Regions from separate parts of the Homo sapiens genome. Here region 2 is linked to region 1. Evidence: promoter capture Hi-C in human tissues and cell types (Jung and others, 2019). All regions are on one chromosome and are shown on one strand. Each heading gives the region's core, a stretch centred on a gene start or on the middle of the fragment in contact. The rest is flanking DNA. Distances are from core to core; before and after follow the strand shown.

Region 1 (4,829 bases), core at 1,489-3,988:
AGCTCAGGGATTGTAAACGCACCAATCAGCACCCTGTCAAAATGGACCAATCAGCTCTCTGTAAAACAGACCCATCGGCTCTCTGTAAAATTGACCAATCAGCAGGATGTGGGTGGGGCCAGATAAGAGAATAAAAGCAGGCTGCCCTAGCCAGTAGTAGTAACCCACTCAGCTCACTTTGCACACTGTGGAAGCTTTATTTTTTCGCTCTTTGCAATAAATCTTGCTGCTGTTCACGCTTTGGGTCTGCACTGCTTTTATGAGTTGTAACACTCACTGTGAAGGTCTGCAGCTTCATTTCTGAGGCCAGCAATACCACAAACCCACCGGGAGGAACGAACAACTCCAGACACGCCGCATTAAGAGCTGTAACACTCACCGTGAAGGTCTGCAGCTTCACTCCTGAGCGAGTGAGACCACGAACCCACCAGAAAGAAGAAACTGCGAACACATCTGAACATCATAAGGAAAAAACTCCGGACACATCACCTTTAAGAACTGTAACACTCACTGCGAGGGTCCGCGGCTTCATTCCTGAAGTCAGTGAGACCAAGAACCCACCAATTCTGGACACACTTTCACCTGGAAGAACGCTAAGTATTCCATTACAGAACACTGAGCTACAAGCAACAACTATGAAACAATGACCTGGTTTAAACCATGATTTATGGCTTACTTTACAGGGAGTCTGGAGGCATGTGGTTGATTCAGCAATTCAGCCATGTCCATCTTTGCTCTCCAGTGTCTCCAGCACTCTAGTCTTTCCTCATGCTTGTCACCTCGTGAGTACCAGATGCTGCCAATATGGCAGGCTCCACATTTTTTCTTTCAGACGTTGTTTCATTCTTGTCACCCAGGCTGGAGTGCAATGGCGCGATCTCTGCTCACTGCAACCTCCACCTCCCAGCTTCAAGCAGTTCTCTTGCCTCAGCCTCCCGATTAGCTGGGATTACAGACACGCACCATTATGCCCGCTAATTGGCAGGTTCCCCATTTCTTATGCCAGCCATCTCAAAGGGGGTAGGGGGTCAAGGGTTTTCTTTTCAGGAAGGTTTGTATTCCATCCAGTTGGGAAACCCTTTCACATCTCACGGACCCAGGTTGCATCACATGACCCTTGACCAGTCACTGGGGAAGGGGAATGACATTACCGTGACCTGGTTAGAGTGATCACGTTTCATCTAAGGAAGTAGGCACACACGTCCCCTTCAGGAAATACAGATAAGCAGGGATGGGTGAGGTAGTAGCTGTTGGACAGCAATGAACAGTGCCTAACTTAAGTTTAGTAGACATGATGCACAAAATGGAATATTTGTAGGTTGTGTAATAACCCAACTTATAATATTGGTCTTTTGAGAAAATGTGTTCTTAGCACCAAAGACAACTTTTGGGAAACAATACTCGAATACAATCCAAAATGCACGGAGTGAAATTCATACATTTATCTTTCAAAGTATACTTAACATAATTCCATCTTTCTTGGGCCCTTCAGGAGGTATTCTTAGAATCTTCTAGTTTGAGAATCAGAATCAGGCTGTGCCTGGTGGCCCATGCTTGTAATCCCAGTACTTAGGGAGGCCGAGGTGGGCGGATCACTTGAGGTCAGGAGATGGGGTTGCAGTGAGCCAAGATAGTGCCACTGTACTCCAGCCTCGGCAGAGCAAGGTCTTAAAAAAAAAAAAAAAATCAAATGTGAACATAGACTGTCATTAAAATCAACCCAACAATCCCATAGACTGTTTACTATTTTTTTAATAAACTTAGAAATTATCATTTCTAGTCTTAAGGTTGAAACTTACCTTTGTTTTATCTGAGTTCCTTCCTCAGGAAAGGACCTCCAGAGCCTCTCAAAAAGTATCAAAAAACTGAAACTCGCCATATCACCGCATTCCAGACAATGAGATGCCAAGCCCCTCATGCATCCCCATAGCTTCCTTCCCCCTCCCGAGTTCCTCTTTTCCCATACATTGTTACATTGCTTCCCTGCAACTGTATAAACCCTTAATTTTAGTTGGTCAGGGCAATGGATTTGAGACTGAGCTTCCAACTCCCTGAGTGCAGCACCCTACTAAAGCCTTCTTCCTTGGTAATAATGGTTTTCTCAGTGATTTCTGTGAGGGGGCAGCGGGTCCTAGAACAAAACCCTGGTGCTCTGGTGACATTCTGTTGTAGATATTTAGAAGGATGTTTACCTGTTAATTTGTTCTGCTATCCTCACAAAAAATGGTATTGCCAGCTGCACATAAATATTTGATTCATCCACCCACCCCTGTTCCCCACCCCCCCGACCCCAGCCATGATGGCACAGGGAAACTGAGGTCGCAGGTGAGCAGCAGACCGCGTCTGGACTCCACATCCCGCGCTCATCCTGCTCCACAGCAGGAAGCTCGTTCAACACACATGGACTGCGTGCCCATGTGGGTGCCAGGCTGCGGCTGTGTCCTGGGCAGGCAAAGGGACCTAGGGAAGATGCAGGTCCAGGAGGGTGGGAAAGTAGGGGCAGAAAACCAAGATTCTCACAGCCCTGCAGTGTGGAGTAAGAGCTCATTACACCTCTTGTCAAGGGAACAAAGGATCCCCGCCAGGCCCCTCTTGTGCACCCAGCGGTCCCCCCAGGCGCCTTGGAGACCCGGCCGGGCCCGTCGCCGGCCTCCAGCCACAGGCGTCGCTGTGCGCTCGCGCGGGCCCGGGAGCCGCGTTCCGCCGGGAGCAGGCGCTGGCGCAGAGCAGGGGTTTCAGTTTCTGGCGCGAACTTCCGCCGTTCCGAAGTTGCACGGTGAATTGGCGCTATGTCTGGGGACAGCAGCGGCCGCGGGCCAGAGGGCCGGGGCCGGGGCCGCGACCCGCATCGGGATCGCACCCGCTCCCGCTCCCGCTCGCGGTCCCCTTTGTCGCCCAGGTCCCGCCGCGGCTCTGCGCGGGAGCGCAGAGAGGCCCCAGAGCGCCCGAGCCTGGAGGACACAGAGCCGTCGGATTCCGGGGACGAGATGATGGACCCGGCCAGCTTGGAGGCGGAGGCCGACCAAGGCCTGTGCCGCCAGATCCGCCATCAGTACCGGGCGCTCATCAACTCCGTCCAACGTAAGGCGGCGCCTCCGGGCGGCGCGGGCCCGGACGGGCCGCTGTCCCCGCCCTGCGCCGGGCGCGGGGGGAGGGCACCGGAGGCAGGTGCCGGGCGGAGGCCCGGCGCGGCGTTAGTAGAGACGCGCCGGGTGCCAGCCCCTCGCCGCACCTTAAATTGTTGACAAAGTGCTCCCACTTTGTGGCTGGAGCCGTACGACCTTGGCGCGGGTCCCCGAGTGGCGGGCTGGAAAAGCTGGAGGCCAGAGCCGTTCGCGGACTCGCCCGAGCCCAGCCAGCCAGTGGGGAGAGGCAGGACGCGGACTCCGCGTGCTTTGATTGCGCCCGGCAGTCCTCGGCGTGGGCTCCCGGCCTCGCAGCGGCAGCTGCAGCTGCAGCGGCACGCGAGAGCTGTCAAATGCACGTTCTCGGACCCCACCCGGACCCGCGGAATTCGAATCTCTGGGTGGGTCCGCGCAACTGTGGAGTGGCCCTCCAGGTGATGGTGTGTATTGCTTGCAAAGTTTGAGAACCACTCAGTTATGGAGCACTCAGAGGCTGCAGCCGGAGTCCAGCCCTTTGGGTTAAGGTTAGAGGGAGCTAGGGTTTCCTTTTAAAATTCATGCTGCATAAAGGGTAGGGTGGCCTTTCTCCTTTTCCGGGTCATTTTGGTTAAAAAGATAAAGATGTTCGAAGTAATTACTCAGAGCGCAGGGGCCGGGGCTTGGCTTTACTGTTGCAGGTGATAACCTTGTCAACTGCTTATTAGTGAATGCTGAACAAATTTCCCAAAGTTTGTATTTTTAAAAATAGAAAACCGTGAGGACATACTGAATGCCGGTGACAAATTAACAGAGGTCCTTGAAGAGGCTAACACTCTGTTTAATGAAGGTAATTTGTTATTTTATATGTTATTTCGTGTTTTATGATACTTTTAATTAGTGTTACATAAGCGCCAAATTATTGACATAAAACAATTCCCACATTTGTAATAGTGCTTTCCCAGTTCGGGAACCGTTTCATTATAGCAATAATGCCATTTTTATTATGCACTTACCATATAATAAGGGCTTTACATGAAAATTTGGGGGTAGGTTCCGCAGTCTGTGTTAAGCCCCCAGTTGATTCTGTTGCCTCTTCAAGTTTGAGAACGTTACATGTGTTATCTTGTTTCTTTTTCTTGTGTTTACTGCCGTATCCCTAGTATACATTGGTTGAGTGGATGAATTACAGAACTGAGCTAGCCTCTGAAATCCTGTTTCTTTTCCTGTCCCATTCTGTTTTGCCTTCCTCAGCTCCCTGCTATTGGTCCACGTGTAACACAATGGAGGTGGCAAAGCCTGCAAGTGTACCTGCTGGTCTCCAGTCTGGGGTGTGTTGTGTGTGAGTGAGTGAGTGAGAGAGATCCCAGAGCACTGAACTCTAGGCCATGGGTGCTTTAAAAAATAACCTTAGTTTGAATTGAAAGCAGAGGCAGTGGTATTGGTAGCAGCTGTCTGTCTGCTTGGTGACAGAGGGGTACTCCCTGATGTGGGTACTTGGTCATAGAGCCACAGGACTACTACCCAGACCACTGTCCCCTCCAGCCCTCTCTGACGGGTCTGTGGGAACATAGGGGAGAATGCAGCCAAATATATCCTTTTTTTTTTTTTTTTTGAGGTTTGAGATGGAGTCTCTGTTGCCCAGGCTGGAGTGCAGTAGCACAATCTCGGCTCACTGCAACCTCCACCTCCCAGGTTCAAGCAATTCTCCTACCTCAGCGTCCCGAG
Region 2 (4,407 bases), core at 666-3,165, 800 kb after region 1:
TCTATTTTTAAAAAATTCTTAAGTATTATTAATCAGTCTTGTTTTCAGTTATACTGAAGTAATTGGGATTAAACTCTTTGTAGAATCATCATCTAGGATTAACATTTGCTGTGGGATGTTGAGATGGTATGCTAACCTCCAGCCAAAGATCTCCAGGCACTTCACGTCTATTGACATTTTTTGAACACCTACTATGTTCCAGGCTCTGTGACCAAGCAGCCAACTTGGGTCGTCAATGAAGTCGAACAGGTGTCAATTCGTTTTTGGAAAATTGAGCAATTGGCAAAAATTCCACTTGGAAGGCAGACAAATTTGTTTGGAAGAATGGATGAATAAAAAGCCAAGAAAACTCTGAAAAGAAAGTGCAATAAGAAAAAAAAGTCCCACCAGACATCCAAACATACTGGAAAACCTCTGTTATCAAAACAGGTTATACTGGCATGTGAATAGGCAGACTGACAAAGCAAAGTAGAAGACCCAGAAATAGCCCCACTTGCACGTGGAGACTTGTAGATGAGAAAGGTGGCATCGCAAATTGGTGGGAGAATGAACTTCTCTGCAAGGGGTGTTGGGATAAGTAGATAGCAACTGGAAAAAAAACAAAATCGGACCTGTTTCTCCATATACTGGGTTAAATTCCAAGTAGACAAGAGATTTAAATATAAAAACTGAAACTGTAAAAATAAGAAAATATTGGCAAATGGCTTTCTATCCTTGGAGATTGTGAAGCTTTCTGAATTACGGCTCAAATCCAGACATGGTAAGGGAAAAGATTGAAAAATTTGGTTGTATTGAAATAAAAAAAACTTCGTGTGACAAAAAAATCAACAACAACAAAAAAATAAAAACCACCATGAGTAAGATAAGACAAATGACAAACTAGGAAAAATAATATTCACAGCTTATATTAGAGACAAATTATTAATAGCCCTAATGTATTTGAAAAAGCTCCTTAAAATGGAGGAGAAAAACTACAACAATTCTGTAGAAAAATATACTAAGGATAGTATATTTATTGATGTTCAAATATTTGCCCCCTTAGGGCAAATCTTTCTGTAGAAAAATGGGTTAGAAATATAAGCAAATAATTGACAGAAAAAGAAATCCAAATATCTCTCTGTCGCTCTCTTTTTTTTTTTTTTTTTTTTTTTTTTTGAGATGGAGTCTCACTCTGTCACCCAGCCTAGAGTGCAATGGTGCGATCTTGGCTCACTGCAACCTCCACCTCCCAGGTTCAAGCAATTCTCCTGCCTCAGCCTCCCGAGTAGCTGGGCTTACAGGCACCCACCACCATGCCCAGCTAATTTTTGTATTTTTAGTAGAGATGGGCTTTCACCATGTTGGTCAGGCTGGTCTCGAATTCCTGACCTCAAGTGATTTGCCTGCCTCGGCCTCCCAAGGTGCTGGGATTACAGGTGTGAGCCACCATGCCCGGCCATCTCTCTTAACAGTATGAAAAGATAATCAACTTCATTAATAATAAGATAAATGTAAAATAAAAACTATACCAACGTACCATTTCTCACCTATCGGATGTCAAAACCCCAAAGGTTGACAACATGCTGTATTGGCAGACCTATGGGGAAACAGGCCCTCTCATTCAATTCTGGGAGGAATATGAAATGGGACAATCCCAGGGAGGAGACTGGCACTATCTAGCAAAACCACATGGGCATTTAGCCTATGACCCAGCAATGCCACTTCTAGGAATCGCCAAGATACCTTGGCAAAAATATGAAAAGACAGATACACAGGCTATTCATCACAGCACTTTTTATAAGAGCAGATGACTGAAAACAACCCAAATGTCCACCAGTAAGGAACAGGTTAAATAAACTATAGGACAGCTACATGATTGAGTATGTACTATGCAGCTATGAAAAGAAATGAGGATGAACCCTGTGATAGCTGTGGAGTGACTTCCAAGGCATGTTAAGTGAATCCAAGGCAGAAAAAAGAATAGTCTGCTGTTATTTATCAAAGAAAGGGAATATATATGTGTGTGTATCTGTGTGTATGATTATATATACATACATATAGGCACACATATATAATCATGTATATAATCACATATATGATATATATATTATGTACACACATAAATATATAATCACATATATGATTTGCTTGTATTAAAAAGGAAGAATAAAATGTATTTTTAAAATAAGTTATTTTTGAGGAAAAAAGGAATAGTGTGGAGAGTTCAGAGATGAAAGCTAGCCTTGTTACTTACATTTTGAGTTTCAAATTTGGTTTTGGAATCATACAAATGTTTTACATAATTGTGAAACCAAATTATAACACTAAAATTTAAAAAGCTAGTCTCTAAAAGCTGATGATAAAATGAAACAAATGAACCTAACTCTGGATTGAGCTGATGGCATAAGCAGAGACAGGAACTGCTCCAAGTGACTTTTAAATAAGATAACTTGACAGCATGTCCCTGGTGAGTATATACCCTAAGGATAAAAAGAACTTAAAAAAAAATTAAACTATTTTTAGTAATCATATTTTGGTGCTAATGCTTATATTATTATTCTGCTATTGTTCTAAGTATGGTGTGGGATAAAGCAAATGAATAATTATATTGGTGTCACTGAAAAATGGGATTTTTGTGGATGCAGATTAAGATCAAGGAATTTAGGTAAAATCTTACAGTCTTGATTTTGAATGAGGAGTATCAGTATGAACTTGATAGATTTTTCTCAAGGTCTGTCCGCTTAAAAGGCCTGGAAAGAATGACCAAACCAGTAGCAATGGGAACACCTATCACCCAGATTGTGGTTCTATTGGACAGAACCAAAGCTTCTTGGCAAGATGGAGGATTCCAGGTCTGGGAGGAAATAAACAAGGTGAGCCTGGAGCAATTGTCATAACTGAAAGCCAAAAAACTATCAAAGACTAGAAGAAACATGTCAAAAAGACTCAGGAGACAACTTGCAAAACCTCCCTCAGGGCAAATATTTCAACATCAATAAAGATAAAAACTAAGAGGGATTGAAACACATCGAATATGTTTTAATCCATGAGTTCCAAATGGTGCTAGGAAAATCATGGGTCACTCTTGCAGAATGCTAGGGTACAACTCATTAGTTTGAAAATTGGTAAATGAAAGAAAGAGGAAAGCTTATCTTGTTTCTATAAGAACCCTACCTTAGGAAACAAAGGAGCTGGTGAGAGGAGTTTCTCTTCAGAAATGTGTAATAGGTCACGAAGAGGAATGATGACAATAATGAAGCCAGCAAGAATACGTCCTCAGCTTCAGAGGTTCCTACCTGGGAGACAGAGTGGAGAAGAGAGGGTCCTTTTGCAGACCTTAATGAATTAATGGATCTAGGCAGTGATCATCAATGGCTGCAAACATCACAAACAGAGAAGCAACCTGACTGATGGAAGAACACAGCTCTACTCATGAGGTGGTCTTACAAAGCAATCAGACTTGAATCTGATCCAGAGCCTAGATCCAACTGCCAACTACGGGAAGTACAGGGTCCAGAGGAACAGGTTAATTCCTCAGGGATGGAATCAGCGAAGTGCAGACTATGGGAAATTCTACACGATAAGTGACCCAGTTTCTTCAACAAAAAAAGTTACGAAGATATAAAAAAGAGAGATAAGGAGGAGCATATATATTTTAAAAAGCCTTTACAGACTACCGACCAATTTAGTCTCATTGTATGGACCTAATTTGAAACCACCTTTGAACAAACAATTTAAAAATGTTTGAGATAATCAAGGAAATGTGAACACTGGAATATGGTCTAGATACTTGGCAATATTAAGATACTAATGAATTGTTAATTCTTAACCATATAAGAATTAGGTGTGGTAGTATTATTGAGGTATTTTTTAGTATCCTTATATTGTAGATATACATATTGGGATATTTATAGATAAATTGCTATATCTATATTTATAGATCTATAATTATATCTATAGATATATAAAAATATATATATTTATAAATTTATATCTATATTTATCTATAAATATCTATAAATATCTATATTTATCTATAATATCTATATATAAATATATATGAATATATAGATATTATCGATAATATCTATATATAAATATATAGATATTATCGATAATATCTATATATAAATATATAGATATTATCTATAAATCTATATAAAATATATATAAATATATAGATATTATCTATAAATCTATATAAAATATATATAAATATATAGATATTATCGATAATATCTATATATAAATATATATAAATATATAGATATTATCGATAATATCTATATAAAAATATATATAGAGAGATATTATCGATAATATCTATATATAAATATATATAAATATATAGATATTATCGATATCTATATATAAATATGTAGATATTATCTATATATAAATATGTAGATATTATCGATAATATCTACA

What was found. Contacts are between HindIII fragments. The study calls those that stand out against the background at their distance.
Region 2: a fragment that was not itself captured here is called in contact with the fragment with the promoter of NSMCE4A in region 1 in 1 of the 25 tissues and cell types used here (hippocampus).

Annotation. Positions count from the first base shown.
Region 1 is chr10:121,973,126-121,977,954 of GRCh38, reverse strand. It overlaps NSMCE4A (NSE4A component of SMC5/6 complex), which reads left to right and starts at 2,738. Exons shown (of 11, transcript NM_017615.3): 1 at 2,738-3,081; 2 at 3,874-3,951. The coding sequence starts at 2,790. It overlaps LOC124902517 (a long non-coding RNA gene), which reads right to left and starts at 3,088. Exons shown (of 2, transcript XR_007062322.1): 1 at 1,800-3,088; 2 at 178-1,667. RefSeq lists an enhancer at 2,304-3,099 and a silencer at 2,537-3,336. The HindIII fragment of the contact is 19,014 bases long and covers 1-4,829 here.
Region 2 is chr10:121,177,719-121,182,125 of GRCh38, reverse strand. It overlaps LINC01153 (long intergenic non-protein coding RNA 1153), which reads right to left and starts at 3,589. Exons shown (of 2, transcript XR_246197.3): 1 at 3,154-3,589. The region is part of intron 1 of LOC124902515 (a long non-coding RNA gene); the gene reads left to right. The HindIII fragment of the contact is 4,166 bases long and covers 1-3,998 here.